3 separate regions of the Homo sapiens genome follow, and all the other regions are linked to region 2. Evidence: promoter capture Hi-C in human tissues and cell types (Jung and others, 2019). All regions are on one chromosome and are shown on one strand. Each heading gives the region's core, a stretch centred on a gene start or on the middle of the fragment in contact. The rest is flanking DNA. Distances are from core to core; before and after follow the strand shown. Region 1 overlaps LOC105378316 (a long non-coding RNA gene). Region 2 holds the start of BICC1 (BicC family RNA binding protein 1). Region 3 overlaps LOC105378316 (a long non-coding RNA gene).

The links. The method cuts DNA at HindIII sites, captures the fragments that hold promoters and counts their contacts. A contact is called where the count stands out against the background at its distance.
Region 1: a contact is called between a fragment that was not itself captured here and the fragment with the promoter of BICC1 in region 2, in 1 of the 25 tissues and cell types used here (IMR-90 fibroblasts).
Region 3: a contact is called between a fragment that was not itself captured here and the fragment with the promoter of BICC1 in region 2, in 1 of the 25 tissues and cell types used here (mesendoderm cells).

The regions. Positions count from the first base shown.
Region 1 is chr10:58,469,226-58,474,175 of GRCh38, forward strand. All of the region lies in intron 3 of LOC105378316 (a long non-coding RNA gene), which reads left to right. Among named protein-coding and RNA genes, the nearest start is that of BICC1, 41 kb to the right of the region's middle. The HindIII fragment of the contact is 5,137 bases long and covers 1,101-4,950 here.
Region 2 is chr10:58,510,459-58,515,152 of GRCh38, forward strand. It overlaps BICC1 (BicC family RNA binding protein 1), which reads left to right and starts at 2,414. Exons shown (of 21, transcript NM_001080512.3): 1 at 2,414-2,875. The coding sequence starts at 2,686. LOC124902427 (a long non-coding RNA gene) reads right to left here and starts at 1,594. Exons shown (of 2, transcript XR_007062147.1): 1 at 1,202-1,594. The HindIII fragment of the contact is 7,114 bases long and covers 1-4,694 here.
Region 3 is chr10:58,450,905-58,455,816 of GRCh38, forward strand. The region is part of intron 1 of LOC105378316 (a long non-coding RNA gene); the gene reads left to right. Among named protein-coding and RNA genes, the nearest start is that of BICC1, 60 kb to the right of the region's middle. The HindIII fragment of the contact is 7,097 bases long and covers 1-4,912 here.

The DNA.
Region 1 (4,950 bases), core at 2,419-4,918, 40 kb before region 2:
AAGGTTCTGTTTCAATAAGTGAACAAGGGGAATGTGCATGTTCTTTTTGAAGACTATTGTTGTATCAGCTCAAAGACTGACCATCTCATTGATACAGCCCTCCTGTTAAGCTGGGAGCTCTCTGCCATAGACACTGTGCATCCATTCCTGGCTAGTTGTGTGTGTGTGTGTGTGTGTGTGTGTGCGTGCAAATACAGATGGTGAATCTATGGGCTAATTTATGAAAAAGGCAGGTCCAGGCTGGAGAACAAAGCTCACTTTTGGTATTGGCAGGTTCTTGATTCTGCCATAACTTGGTTTTTCTCATGCTGGAAGCACTCCCTGGGAAACTAAATATGTATTGTTTCAGCTATTTTCCTATGGGTGGGGAAAAATGACAATTCTTTTAAATCCATTCTTCTCCAGAGCAGGAGGAGCACAACCAGGCTGTAGGCTGGGAAGAAAACTATTCTCCAGAAAATTCTACGTGGTACTTTATCTGTGTTTTTATTTATTTGTCTTATTGTCTGTATTTCCATTTACTCATGTATAAAACTGTACAGTGGTATTTCATATATTCAGTTCTTCGTGGAGTGCCACAGATAAGTACTTAATATCTCTTACCCACAAGTACTGTTACTCTACTACTACTAGGGCTACCACTGCTTCCAGGCTTCCTACAATTACTTCTCGGAGTCACTTCAGTATTGTATTTGGACACTCAACAGCTATAATACTATTTTGAGCTCCACAAACTTAACGGTGTTTTTAGAATTCTGAAACATCAAAATGTCCTCTGAAGGGTACAGGTTGGTTAATATTAGAAATTCTGATGTGTTTTGGGAGATAACACTATTTTCTGTTTCTTCACATAACAGAAAACTCAACTCAAATTGGCTTAAAAAACTAAACAGAACAACTTAGAGTTTCACTGCTGGTAATATATGAGCTAAGATAACCTGAAATCTTACCAATATAAACAAATAGAAATGCTGGATGAATTATTTCCAGAAGATTTTAAACTATGAATTCAATTTATTTAATTTTTTGTATTATTCTATTATTCAGATAATCTGTTTCATTATGGGTGAGTTTTGGCATTTTTGGTTTTCAAGGCATTTGTCCATTTTTTCTTTCTAGGTTGTCAAATTTTTGTGTGCGGAATTGCTTGTATAAGTTCTTTGTTTTTTTAATGTATGCTGGGGTCTAGGTGATATTTTCTTTTTAATTCCTGATATCAGTAGTGTATGTCTTCTTTCTTTGTCAATTTTGATACAATTTTAATTTTATTAATTTTTTAACAGAACAAGATTTTGGTTGTATTGACTTTCTCTTTTTCTGTTTTCAATTTTATTGATTTCTGCATTATTATGTTTTCCCTTCTGCTTGCATTGGGTTTATTTTGCTCTTCTTTTTGGGTTTCTCAAGGTGCTTTCTGTTAGCATTTGATGCTATAAATTCCCCGCTAGGCACTGCTTTGTCATCTGGCAAATTTTGGTATGTTTTACTTTCATTTAGTTCCAAATATTTTCTAATTTCCCTTGAGACTTCTTTAATGCATGGATTATTTAGAAGTGTGTTGTCAAGTTTTTGAGATTTCCTGTTATCTTTCTATCATCAGTTTCTAGTTTAATTCTAGTATAGTCAGAGAATAAACCTTGTATCATTTCAATTCTTTTAAATGTGTTAAACTTTATTTTATAACTCAGGATACTGTCTATCTTGGTGAATGTTCCATGTGCACTTGAAAAAAATATATATTCTGCTATTGGTCCTGGAATGTTCTAAAAATTTCAATTAGATCCAGTCAGTTGATAGTGTTTTACAGTTTATTAATATCCTTGCTGATTTTTTATTAGTTCTATCAATTACTGAGAAGGGAGAGTTGAAGCCTTTTATTATAATGAGGGATTTGTCTGCTTCTACTTTTAGTTTCATGCAACTTGAAGTTCTATTGTAAGGAGCAAACATACTTCGGATTTATTGTATCTTCTTGGTGAAATAACCCTTTTATCATTATATAGTGTCCCTCTTTATCCTTGGTAAATTATTTTGCTCTTCATTCTTCTTTCTCTGATATTAATACAGCCGCTCTAGCTTTCTTTTGTTAAAGATTTACATTGAATATGTTTTCGTATCCTTTATTTTTAACCTACCTATATCATTATGCTTGAAGTAAGTTTCTTAGAGACAGCATATAGTTGGGTCATGTTTTTCAATCCACTCTGAGAATATCCATCTTTTAGTTAGTGTTTCAATGCAGAATAATTTTGACATCTCCTCCAACCCATAATTGTGACAACCAAAAATGTCTTCAGATATTGCCAAATATATGTCCCTCTTTCCTTCCTTCTTACCTCCCTTCATCTTTCTTTCTCTTTTCTTCCTTTCCTTTCCTTTCCTTCTCTCTTTTATCAAATGCCTCTTTAGTGAAATTTCTTTTGTCAAATGCCTCTTGAGTGAAATTGCTCCAGGTTGAGAACCATTGCCCTAGCGATTTCAACATGCATCCTTAACTAGTTACAGTCTACCTTAACTAGTAATCTAATTCTACATAGAATGTAAGAATCTTATAACTTGACTCCATTTGCCCCTTTCTCTTACCTTTTTTGCTATTGTCACATATTTTACACTATGTTACATGTTCTAAGCTCCAAAAGATGCTATTGTTGTTGCTTTATTTGTTTATTTGTAGTTTCGAGACAGAGTCTTGCTGTGTTGCCCAGGCTGGAGTACAGTGGCTCAATCACAGCTCATTGCAGCCTTGACCTCCTGCCTCCTCAGCCTCCTCAGCCTCTCAAGTACCTGGGACTACAGGTACACTCCACCATGCCTGGCTAATTTTTTAGTATCTTTCCTAGAGACAGGGATTCATCATGTTGCTTAGGCTGCAATCAAACTCTGGGCTCAAACGAACCTACCTTCTCAGCCTCCCAAAGTTCTGGGATTACAGTCATGAGCCACTGTGCCTTGTTGCTTTAAATAGTTAGTATTCTTTTATATTTATTCACTGATTTATAGTCTTTTCGGTGTTTTTCATTTCCTTCTAATTTTCTGTGTTTCTAGCTCAGAAAATTTCCCTTCTGCTGGTAGAACTCCCTTTAGTACTTACTTCAATGCTGTGCAGCTAGCAACAAATTCTATTTTAATTTGAAGGAAATATTCTTACTGGTGTATAATTCTAGGTTGAGAGGTCTTGTTTGCCTTTTTGTTTTTTCATTTTAAAAATATCATGACATCGTCTCCTGATTTCCACAGTGTGTCATTTTGGGTTCCATGAGAAGCAGACACCAAGATAGGATTAAAAATATAAGAAATTTGTTCGGGGGAAATGCCTGTAAAGGATAAAAAAAGAAGGAGAGGAGTAGGCAGGGAGAACCTTCAGACACCAAGACAGGTCCAGCACCTGTGAAAGAAGACAGGTGAGGAAGGATTAGGCCAGAAGAGCCTCAGACTATCGACGGGTCTGTTAAATTCATGGCCAGGTCAGTAGAGATCTCCTGAGCCAAATTGCCTGTTAAAGAAATTCTGCATCTACCAATATAGCCTGATTTTCATACCCCCATTGAGCTAATTCATTGACTGGAAGCAGCCCAGGGGAAGTATGATTTGATATGAAAGTTTTAGTGGATCTAACAGTGCAGCAGCTGTCAATAAGATGAGCGCCCCACAGCATGATCTCTTGAAGGGAGATCTGAGGGGTGCAATTCCGTGGCTGCCACACAGTGTTTTTTTTTGTTTTTTGTTTTGTTTTGTTTTGTTTGAAGTTAGCTGTCAGTCTTATTGTAGTTCCCCTGAAGACTTGGGCTTTCCCCAGCTCTGGTTGCTTTAGAACTTGTCATTCTTTTTCAACAATTTCTACAATGTGTCCAGGTATGGTGGGTTTGTTGGTGTTACTGTTGGCATTGTACTTATTCTGCTTAGGGACTCTTGAACTTCTGGAATTGGTGGGTTTATATCTTCCATTACTATTAGAAATTTCTCAGTTGTGTGTTTTCAAATATTGCTTCTGCTCCATTCTCTCTCCTTTCTCTCCTTTGAGACTCTATTACACTTTATTAAACTGTTGGAGTATGTTCCACATTTGGACATACTCTTTCTTTCCAGTTTGGTTTTTCTCTGTGATCCAATTTGAATAGTTTCTATTGATCCGTCTTTAAATTAACTAATCCTATCATCTATATCCAGTTTGCTTTTAAACCTACCTAATTAGTTCTCAAATCCAAACATTATACTTTTCAGTTCTAAAATACCCATTTAAAAATTTGATAGAGCCCAATTATCTGTTAAAATATAATTTTCACTTTTTTTTAACATGCTTTTTGAAACTTTTTTTTAACATGCCATGGTTATTTTATTGTGCTTTTTCTCATCTCAATTCTCTTTGGGCTTGTATTTATTTTATTTTTTGATTATTATTACCTATCCTGATTGTTTTAATGTGCAGTAAATTTTGATTGCATGCTGGGCATTGGTATAAAATAACTGTAGACTTCTGATGGTATCTTCCACCAGAGAGGTATCTTTTTTTTTTCTTTTTTGTTAGGACCAGGAGCTAATTACCTCATTTCAATGGGAACTGAGTTGAAGTAGGGCTGCATTTACAATTTTAGCAAGATTCTGTCCACCCCTGGTTTATCCCTGCTTTTTAGATATAGTCTTTCCAAGCTTTTGATTGAGAGCCTGGAGTGTCTATTTCTTCTCAGCTTTAAGAAAATTTTTTCCTTTTTTAGTCTTTTTGAGACAGAGCCTTGCTCTGTCGCCCAGGCTGGAGTGCAGAGGTGCGATCTTGGCTCACTGTAACCTCCGCCTCCTGAGTTCAAGTGATTCTCATTCCTCAGCCACCTGAGTGACTGGGATTACAGGTGGCTAATCTTTGTATTTTTAGTAGAGATGGGGTTTTGCCATGACTGGTCTTTAACTCCTGGGCTCTAGTGATACACCCACTTTGGCCTCTGCAAGTGCTGGGAT
Region 2 (4,694 bases), core at 1,164-3,663:
GCCATAGTCAACTTTTGAAAATGCAAATCTAAGCACATCTTTCTTTACTTACAGCCTCTATATGATTTCCTTTTATTCTAAGGATAAAGACAAAAACTCCTTAATTTGACCTATGCTGCTTACATATGCCCCCTCTTACTTATAACTCCTGCCCCAGTGAGTCCTAATTCCTTGTTTCCTTGTACCAGCTACGCTGGCCTTCTTTTAGTTCATCCAATGGGGGAATGCATACTGCCCCCTTCTGCTACAGTGTCTTTACTTGTGCTAATCTTATTGAGAGCCAATATAACTTATTGGCTAAGCATAAAGCACCTGAAGCCTAATTTTCAAGAGACTGCCTGGGTTCAAATTCTTATTCTTCAACTTAGTCGTGCAACCTTGAGCAAGTCATTTTACCTTTTGTGCCTCAGTTTCCTCAACTCTAAAATGAGGATAATTGTAGTATCTACCTTCAGGGATGTTACTATGATCAGATGATCATTTGCAGGGATGGCTCTTCCTTCCCTTGCCTAGTTAACTTCTCTTCCAACGTCTGTTCTGAGTTAGAGTCACTGTTTCGAGAAGCCTTCACTGACCTCTCTGACTGAATCCAATTACTCTATCATAGGTTTTCTCATATCTTGAGTCTCTTGTTTGTAATGCTTACTGCGGGCATGATTTTATATTTGTGATTTATTTTTTGGTCAGTATTCCTTCTCATTAGAATTTCAGCTCCAGGAGGGAGTACAGGGATGTGTCTGTCTTTGCTTACTATTCCTTGGGCTTAACAGTGCCAAGTACATAGTAGGGTCCCAATAAATATTTGTTGATAGAAAAACACAGTAAATGTCCCTGATGGAAAACAGTGGGAATGCTCCTACATAAACCCTTTGGGTGCTGAAACTAGTGCCTTGGATAGAAATTAACAGTAATTAACAAGTTTATAAAAGGAACACATGGTGGTGAATCAGAGCAGTTAAGTGTGCAGATGCTCTCAGTTCTTCAGGAGGTGACTCTGGGCAGGAGGGGTCTCCGCTCAAAAAGGTAAGACTTTATATAAAGACCCACAGACCTGGGTCTGATTAATTGGCTGTATTATCTGCTGCTGGACAACCTTAGTCAAGTTACTTTATTTCCCACGGTCTCAGTTTCCTCATCTGTACCCATCACAGGGTCAATTCCTGTTAACTAGGCAGCTGAACCTGAAATAATTTTGATTTACCTTCAGCATATTCCATGATTATCCAGAGGCCTGTGCCAGTGATATGGCTCTTCCTACATGTGAGCCAGGCAGCCTCCTTCTGTGGCGCAGTGACAAACTGCTATCCCCATCATTCCTCCCCGCAAGTCTTTGTACTTTGGGTCATAAAATAATAGGCTATGAATCTGTGTGAACTGGGAAAACAGAGTTCCAAGGGCACACCCAGTACGAGCGAGTCTCCTCTTCCCCCGCGCTTCATATCCAAGCTTGACAGAGGCCGTGGGTGGGCTGGCCCTCGGCAGTGAGGCTCAGAGGTTACTGGCCGTCATCTGTCAGAGACTGACCTTGAAAACAGAGAAAAGCCCTCAGTCCCTGACAAGACAGCCCTGCCCACGTGCCAGCTGGATCCAGCTCGCCAACACAGCGATCTCCGAGCCCCTTTTCTACTTAAAAAAAAAAAAAAGTCTGCTGAGTCCATTCCTTGAGAATCACAGAGAAAACAATTCCTTCCTTACTCCATTCAAGAAAAAAAAAAATTCCCTTTCTCAGAATAAAAAGAGTAAGCCTCTTGTCCACCTCTCGTGCAGCGGGCCACTTTGCTGGGAGGAGACGAGGTGTCTGGGTTTGAGCCCTTCCTGGAGGTATGAACTACATGCGAGCCACGTCCATGGCGATGCCTGCGAAAGACGGGCATGATTTCTTCTCCAAGCCTTCTTTTTCCTCTTCCTCACGTTCGAGCTTGTGGAACCAACTGGGGCTGTGAGTTTCAGGGTGTAGGGTATGTATGTAAACAGCGGAATTGTGTATGCGCTTAGTGTGCGTTCAGGACTCTGCTGTGCTTGAACTTGGCGTGTTTGTGTTTGTGTGTTTGGAGGATTATGAGAGCATGTAGGGGGAAGAGATTTGTATGTGTAAGTGCAGAAAAGTAGTAGTGTGTGTGATGTGTGTGTGTAGACAGGAATTACGTGGATACTCCATGTGCGTTCAGGAGTGTGTGTGTTTGAGGAGCTATGAAAGTGCATGTATGGAAAGGATTTATACGTGTAAGTGCAGAAAGTGGCAGTGTGTACGTGGTGTGTGTGTGCGCGCGCGAGTGTGTGAGCGCCAGGGGCCGCCCGCCCGCCGCGGCTCCCCGTGGGCTGGCCGGGCCAATGAGCGCGCGGCTGTAGGGGCGGCGGGCGGGGAGGGGGCGCCGAGCCCTGCGGATGGAGGCGCGGGCAGCGCGGCGCGCTCATTCCGCGCGGGCGTTGCTGGCGGGGGGCGGCGCAGCCACTGGACCCGGACCGGGGCCGCGACCCGGGGTGGCGGGTGGCGTGGGCGGCGCCCGGGGCTGGGATGCGCCGGGGGCTCAGTGGCGGCGGCGGCGTTGGCGGTGGCGTCGGCGGCTGCAGGGGGACGAGCTAGCGCCGCGGCGCTGGGAGCCAGTTGAGCCCGGCCGGCGAGCGGAGGCGGCAGCGCAGGCAGAGCGGCGGCGGCAGCGGGAGCCCGAGCGCTGCGCGCCCACCATGGCCGCCCAGGGAGAGCCCGGCTACCTGGCGGCGCAGTCGGACCCCGGCTCCAACAGCGAGCGCAGCACCGACTCCCCAGTGCCCGGCTCCGAGGACGACTTGGTCGCCGGGGCGACCCTGCACAGCCCGGAGTGGAGCGAGGAGCGCTTCCGCGTGGACAGGAAGAAACTTGAGGCCATGTTACAAGGTAGGCATCCCTCGTGTTCTCGGACTCTCCGACTGAGCCTCTAACTCCTTTTCGGACATCCCCACCGCGCGCTCCGGCGCCCGCTACTCCAGCCTACGGCCGGCCGGTTTAGCTCCAGGCCCGCTCCCCCGCGGAGCCGGAGGACACCCAGGGACTGGAGACTTCGCGGGACTCCCCACCCTTCCACGCCTCTCAGATTTCCAGGCGCTGGGGGCCCTGTGCGAACTTGACTGGCTTCAGAAAAGCCGAAGGCCGAGTTTGTACTGGCGCGCCCAAGTTGCGTTCTGGACTTTGGAGATGCCAACTTTAGCCCGGACACCTGGGCTGTGCCATCCGGACCACTCGGGCCGCACAGAGTATGCGTGACCCTCCCCATTCCCTGGCAGCCTCGAGTTCTGTCTCTCTCCGTCTGTTTCACTCTCTCCCCTTGTCAGTATCCACTTCCTCCAGCTGAGGGGCCTTGTCTCACTATTGGGAAACGCTCTGCAGATGTCAAGGCTTAAGACAGGAGCTCCCGCCCCCACCCCTGTGGTCAAGGAGGGCCAGGATCGGGGTGAGCAGCCAAAGCGAGGGGGGAGTGTGGAGGCAGTGCTGCTGTGTTTGAGGACAGTGTTCATCTCTTGACAGGCTTATAAAACACATCTTGAGTTACATTCAGTCCATAAAAATCTTCCTATGCTATGGGTGTCTGACTTTGTCTTTCACAACTTAGAATTATTTTTAACTCTTTAATTTCTTTGGGACTTTCCCAGGTAGAAAATCTTCAACCATACTGGACCGAAAACAGATTCTGATTTATAATACGAGTGTTGGAGTGAACGTCAAAACGTCCAAGGTCATTTTGACCTTTCTTAAAACAGATAATTACTAGCCTACCTGTAGCCACCGATGTGGCTCATTTCCCACATCCAAAGAGAGAAATGAGTTAGTTTGAATGACTGTTATTCTTAAAATACGTGTACGGGACCAGGCGTTAGTCTCACTTAGGGCGCTGGTGAAGATTCATTCAGTAGCTAGTGTTCTTTTATCATGGAGGAGTTTGGAGTTTTTCAAACGTTATTTGTGGCTTTATGCATAACTTACTTTGACTTTATCAGTCAATGCATCGCAGTATGGGAATGATTTAGCCCTCTGTGGAAATGCAGTGGCTTTTTAGAACAATTAAGCAGGTTATTTTAAGAGAGAACAACATGTTTTCCAAAACAATAACTTGGTGGAAACAAATAGCAAGAGTGTTTGGCAGACGTTTTTTGGATGTGCTACAGGCTTTCCTCCCTTGTTGCTTATTTTTATTGACAAACATCCCTAATGTGTGTCATGTCTTTCTCTGTCTCTCCCCTTCCCTCTCTTTTTTTCTCAAATTATGTAACTTTTGAGGACAGTTACTTCTGTGATAAACTCTTCAAGTAAGACCGTTATAAGATAGATTTGGAAATTAAAGCCCCAGTTGCATTTCAGTAACTCATTTCAGTTATTTCGTCTGTTCTGTGGTTCTTTTTGCCTAGTTTATGATTATAAAACAAAATATTAAATTTATGTCAGGCATATATTGTGAGATCGTTTGGAATGAACTGATAGTAGCACATACTCATCCTTTTCAACCAGCTTTCAGTTTTCTACATTAGTTTGGAGTGATATGAAAGAATGATCTGTTTCACCTGCGCACAAACAAGTAAGGACAGTGATGTTAGCTTCTGGGAAGTTCAAGTGTATAACCTGAGCTTTAGAAGTGAATTTCCTTTTTTGATTTAATTCATTTTCACTTCGAATAAAATGAAATTTTGAGGAGACTTTTTGAAAATTTGAAGGCTCTTTTGTA
Region 3 (4,912 bases), core at 315-2,814, 60 kb before region 2:
CACACACAAGTTTGAAGGTCTTCGATACATCATAATTTTGCATTATTTCTATCATCTCGCATGAATGAGCAATTTTCATCATGCTGATATCTGTAATTATGTCCTTTTAAATGTCTTACATAGTATTCCATCATTTCATACACCCCAAACTTTTAAACTATTATTCAACTTGTTGTACATTTATATTATTACAACTATAAATAATGTACCACAAACATGTTTATGTATATAGTCTTTCTCTTCTATGGGGGGTATCTCTTTAGCTGTAAGATATCCATGGTGAAAAGTAGAAACATTTAATATTGTTTTATGTATATTGATATTTAGTCACAAGAGCTCTGACATTGTAAAGCCCCAGAGTGATATGTGTGAGAATCTTTGAATTTCAGATAATTACTGAGAGAAAGGACTTTGCTTTGTAGCTCCAGGAGCTAGTACTGTGGCTAGGCATATTAGACCAGTAATAGCTGTGTTTTGAATATGTAAATCAATGATTAAATGAATGATTAATTCACTTGTCTTGTGATGAGAGTTTTAAGATGTTTCTTGCCATCTGGATGCAGTATGATTTCAAGTGTCCCCTCTGATACTGGCAAGGTCTGGAGAGCCATTAAGACAAAGAGTTTACTCCTGTGAGCTGGGTTCTACGGAAGTCTGGAATGCTGCCCTGAGAACACAATCTGCAACAGTATCTGTCTGAGATTTTTGGTTTTGTTTCCTCCACCACTATAAACCCAAGCATTTCCATGGGCTCCCTTCTGAAAAAGGGAAGGTGATATTTCCTGGCTGAAGGAGACTTTCCCATTAATGTTTTACCTCAGTGTAGCAAGCACGCTAAGCTTGGGTCAGAATGTTTGAATGTTTTGGCTCTGTTCTCTTGTGGACTTCAGAAAACAACTAAGTTCATTCTCAACTTAAACTGGATCACTGTTTTTGTTTTGTAATGATTTTTCTTGTAAAGGGAGAAAAATAATTTTGGTTCAGATCAAATTGTAAAAAAAAGTTTAAGATTTAGCTGATCAGAATAAGGCTTTTGAGATGGAGATTTTATATCAATATCATTTGTGTTTTTACTAGCACTAGTAATTACTATTTATAGCACTCTGTGCCTGTCCCTGCTCTAGTACATTTTTTTTTTACATTATTTAACTTACTTTAGTCATCTCAGCAATCCTATGAAGTAGATATTACTTTCATTTTGTAATTATCGGGAAAATGATGCTTACAGAACTTAACTCACCTGCCCATAAGCACACAGAATTGGTAACAGTCAGAATTGAAAACTAGATCTGTCTGATATCAATATGCTCACACATCCATTTGATTTTTGTTTGTTTATTTATTTATTTATTTTGAGACAGGGTCTCATTCTGTCACCCAGGCTGGAACGCAGTGGTACAATCTTGGCTCACTGAAGGCTCACAGCAACTTCCGCCGCCCAGGTTCAAGCAATTCTCCCACCTCTGCCTTCCAAGTAGCTAGGATTACAGGTGCATGCCACTCACTATGCTAGGCTAACTTTTTTTTTTTTTTTTTTTTTGGTAGAGATGGAGTTTAACCATGTTGGCCAGGCTGGTCTCGAACTCCAGACCTCAGGTGATCCGCTCACCTCAGCCTTGCAAAGTGCTGGGATTACAGGCATGAGCCACTCACACATCCATTTGAAAAGCACTTTCACATAAATTTTATTTTCTCATTCACAGTTGCAATACTGGGAAGAGGGCTGTGCTTAGTCCTGCCTGGCATAGGTAAAGACAGAGATTTACAGATTATGTGTTTTGCCATCCAAGGTCACACTGGAGAGAGTTATCAGAGTCAGGGCATAAATGAAAACCTTCTGGTCTTCATCCCGTACCCTTTCCACTCTTCTCACGGACTCCCTAGAGATTTTCTCTCTCAATCTCTCACTTTATGTTTGAGCAAATGGAAGCCCAGAATATTGCAATGATTCATCAAGGTCATACAACTAGTTAGCAAACTGATGCTAGAGGCTGGATTTTTTGCCTCCCGAGCTAGCGTCTTTTCTGTTAGGTCTATGTAGCAAACAAAACCTGATTGTTAAGGAATGTTCAATGTGAGTTACAATCCAAGCCAGGGAAGACATTAATATAGGCCATCCAGTACAGAGCCCTTCACTCATCATTTTCATTTTTAACAAATGTCCTCCCTCATTTGAGATACCCAGTTGATGTGCTCATCATCAAGTATGCACTGAAATGATGAGTATGAATGTGTCCTGCACTGGGGACCAGCCCCGAGTGGGTCCCCCATTGTCAGTATATGGAGAGTCTCAGGAATAGCAACTCTCCCTTCCTCAGTGTAGACCTCGAAACAGCCAAAGTAAATAGAATTTTCCACCTCAACAGCTGTATTTATTTTGGGCTGTTTCTCCACCTACAACGCCCATTTGCTGTTCTCAGAGCTTCTGAACCTGTTTATTTTCAACCTCCCAGAGGCAGCCAGCTGTTGTATTCCCATTTCAAGGCAAAAAGAAGTCAACATGTTCTTCTGGAGGGAAGCAACCCATTTTAAGATCTTAAAGGATATCACCCAAAGGAGAGTTTACCAGCTGTGGATATTTCCTGAGCAAGACACTATTCCTGCTCTCAAATATCTTATTCAAGTGGCTTAACAGATGTAATTGGAGACAGAGCTTGAGCGCTGAAAATTACATAGTAATATAAAAGAGCTAGGGAGCAATATGAGCTCGAGATTTAAGTGATGTCAAGTGAATGTGATTGAGCAGAGCCTCCCCATCAGTAGGCTGGATTAAGCCTATAGGAATATTTTGTTTGGGATCCAAGTTTGTTTGTGTATGTGTTTGTTTTTCAGTGAGCCAATATTTAAAAATTGAGAGACTTTACCTAAAAGTCTGATTTCTGGCTTCGTTTGAAATACCAGAAGATCTGTCAATACGTGTTTGTCCTTATTGGGGCACCAGTGGGCTGGTGTGGTGGGTGTGTTAGATAAAACACACCCTCCTCAGTTTGCCATAAGTACTCCCTATTTTCTTTCCAATGTTGAGGCCAACTCTTAGTTGCCTTGTACCTTCACAGTTGCAGTGTTGTTTTACTTATTCTCATTCACTTCAGTTTTGTGCTGGACCCCATGGGCATGTGAGTATTTCAACCCTTTTGGGGTCATTAGTGCCTTAAGGGCTGGTATGGATGTCGCCTTTGTTGAATGCCCATTATAATATAATAAGCACTGTACTAGACATGTACCTCATTTACTACTCACAGAAAACCCTACCAGGCAGACATTATCATTCTCACTTTGCAAATGGGAAAAATGAGACTCAGCAAGGGTTTGATATCAGCTAGAAGTCATCCAGTTCACGAATAGCTAGGATTCAAATGCTAGCTGGCTAATTTCCTCCTTCATAGATACTGCCTCCCAGAGAACTAGGAAGTGACAAAGTTGAGTCTTGAACTCCAGCCTAGTGAACATTCTAAAAAGTCATACTCTATCACAGGCACACATTTTGCTGTGTGCAAAGAGATAGCTAGCAAATACCTCATGATGAATCCAGAGGACCTAGAAGAAAAAAACCACTTCCACTAGGAAATGACTCAATAACCAATAATAACTTCTGAAAAGAATACACTGTAATTGTCCTTAAATTGTAGGTAGACAAACCCATCACCAAGGAGTTGGCATGTGCTTCTGGGATAGATTGAAAATTTTGGCAACAACAGGGTATTGAACTATTAGAAAATACCATTTGGGTATTTCGATGAGAAGAATGGAATCTGTGAAGATGCTAAACAAAGACCATAAATTCCATACGGTTTGGGCAGATAAAGAAGTAGTAAAACCTATATTCTAAATTCTAAGCCAACCATTCCTGGGCAGTGACCACTGGAAGCTGGACCTCAAAGCCTGAAGCCTGGATGTCAAAACCTATCACTTCCCATACAGCTCATTCTAGGTAGCAGAAATACAAAATATTTAAATGTCAGTTATTCTGTTTTATATTTTGAAAAAGAGTTTTGGAAAGTTACACAGCTTGAATTTAAATCCAGGACTTCCATTATATGCTACCTTGAAGAAAACAGATGGTAGAGAGGGGAGGGAAAGGCATTCCAGGTAGGGGATGTCATGTTAGAAAACTTCAGATTCAGCTTGGGTAGAGAAGGGAACTAAATAGCAGAGATTACAGTCTCTAAAATTTCTATCACCATGGTACATGATGACAGCAGCTACCTGTTTTATTACTTACCCTGTTACCTCAGATTGCAGATAACTGACCATGCTGGCCCTCACTGAAATTCCCAAGGGACATGTCTCTAATGACCACATGTCCCTTTTACTCTCCTTTCACCTAGCCATGGCCATTTACCCCACTTGCAAGATCCACCCTACTCCAAGGTTTTGGATCAATTCTCTTCCTGGTCAAGGTAAGTTGCAGGCTAATAGGTAAATCACAGGCCAGCTATAGGTTGAGTAATGTTTAACAGCAACAACAAAACCAAAAATAACAATTACTATAACAGTAAAAATGGTAGTTACTTTTCCTGAGCTATGTCTATGTACTAAACACTTTGCTATTAAATAAAATAATTAATTAAATAATAAATAATTTATATTCTTTACTCCATGTAATTATATCACTCTGTGAGTTATACATTATGGGGAGACAATTCTCTATGGGTCTCTTGCATTTCCGCACATCTTGTGAGTGAGGCATTCGCTCTTCTTTGTTCCAGACTTCTTTTTTTTTTTGATGGTAAGCAGTTTATTTTTTATTTATTTATTTATTTATTTATTATACTTTAAGTTCTAGGGTGCATGTGCACAACGTGCAGGTTTGTTACATATGTATACATGTGCCATGTTGGTGTGCTGCACCCATTAACTCGTCATTTACATTAGGTATATCTCCTAATGCTATCCCTCCTCCCTCCCTCCA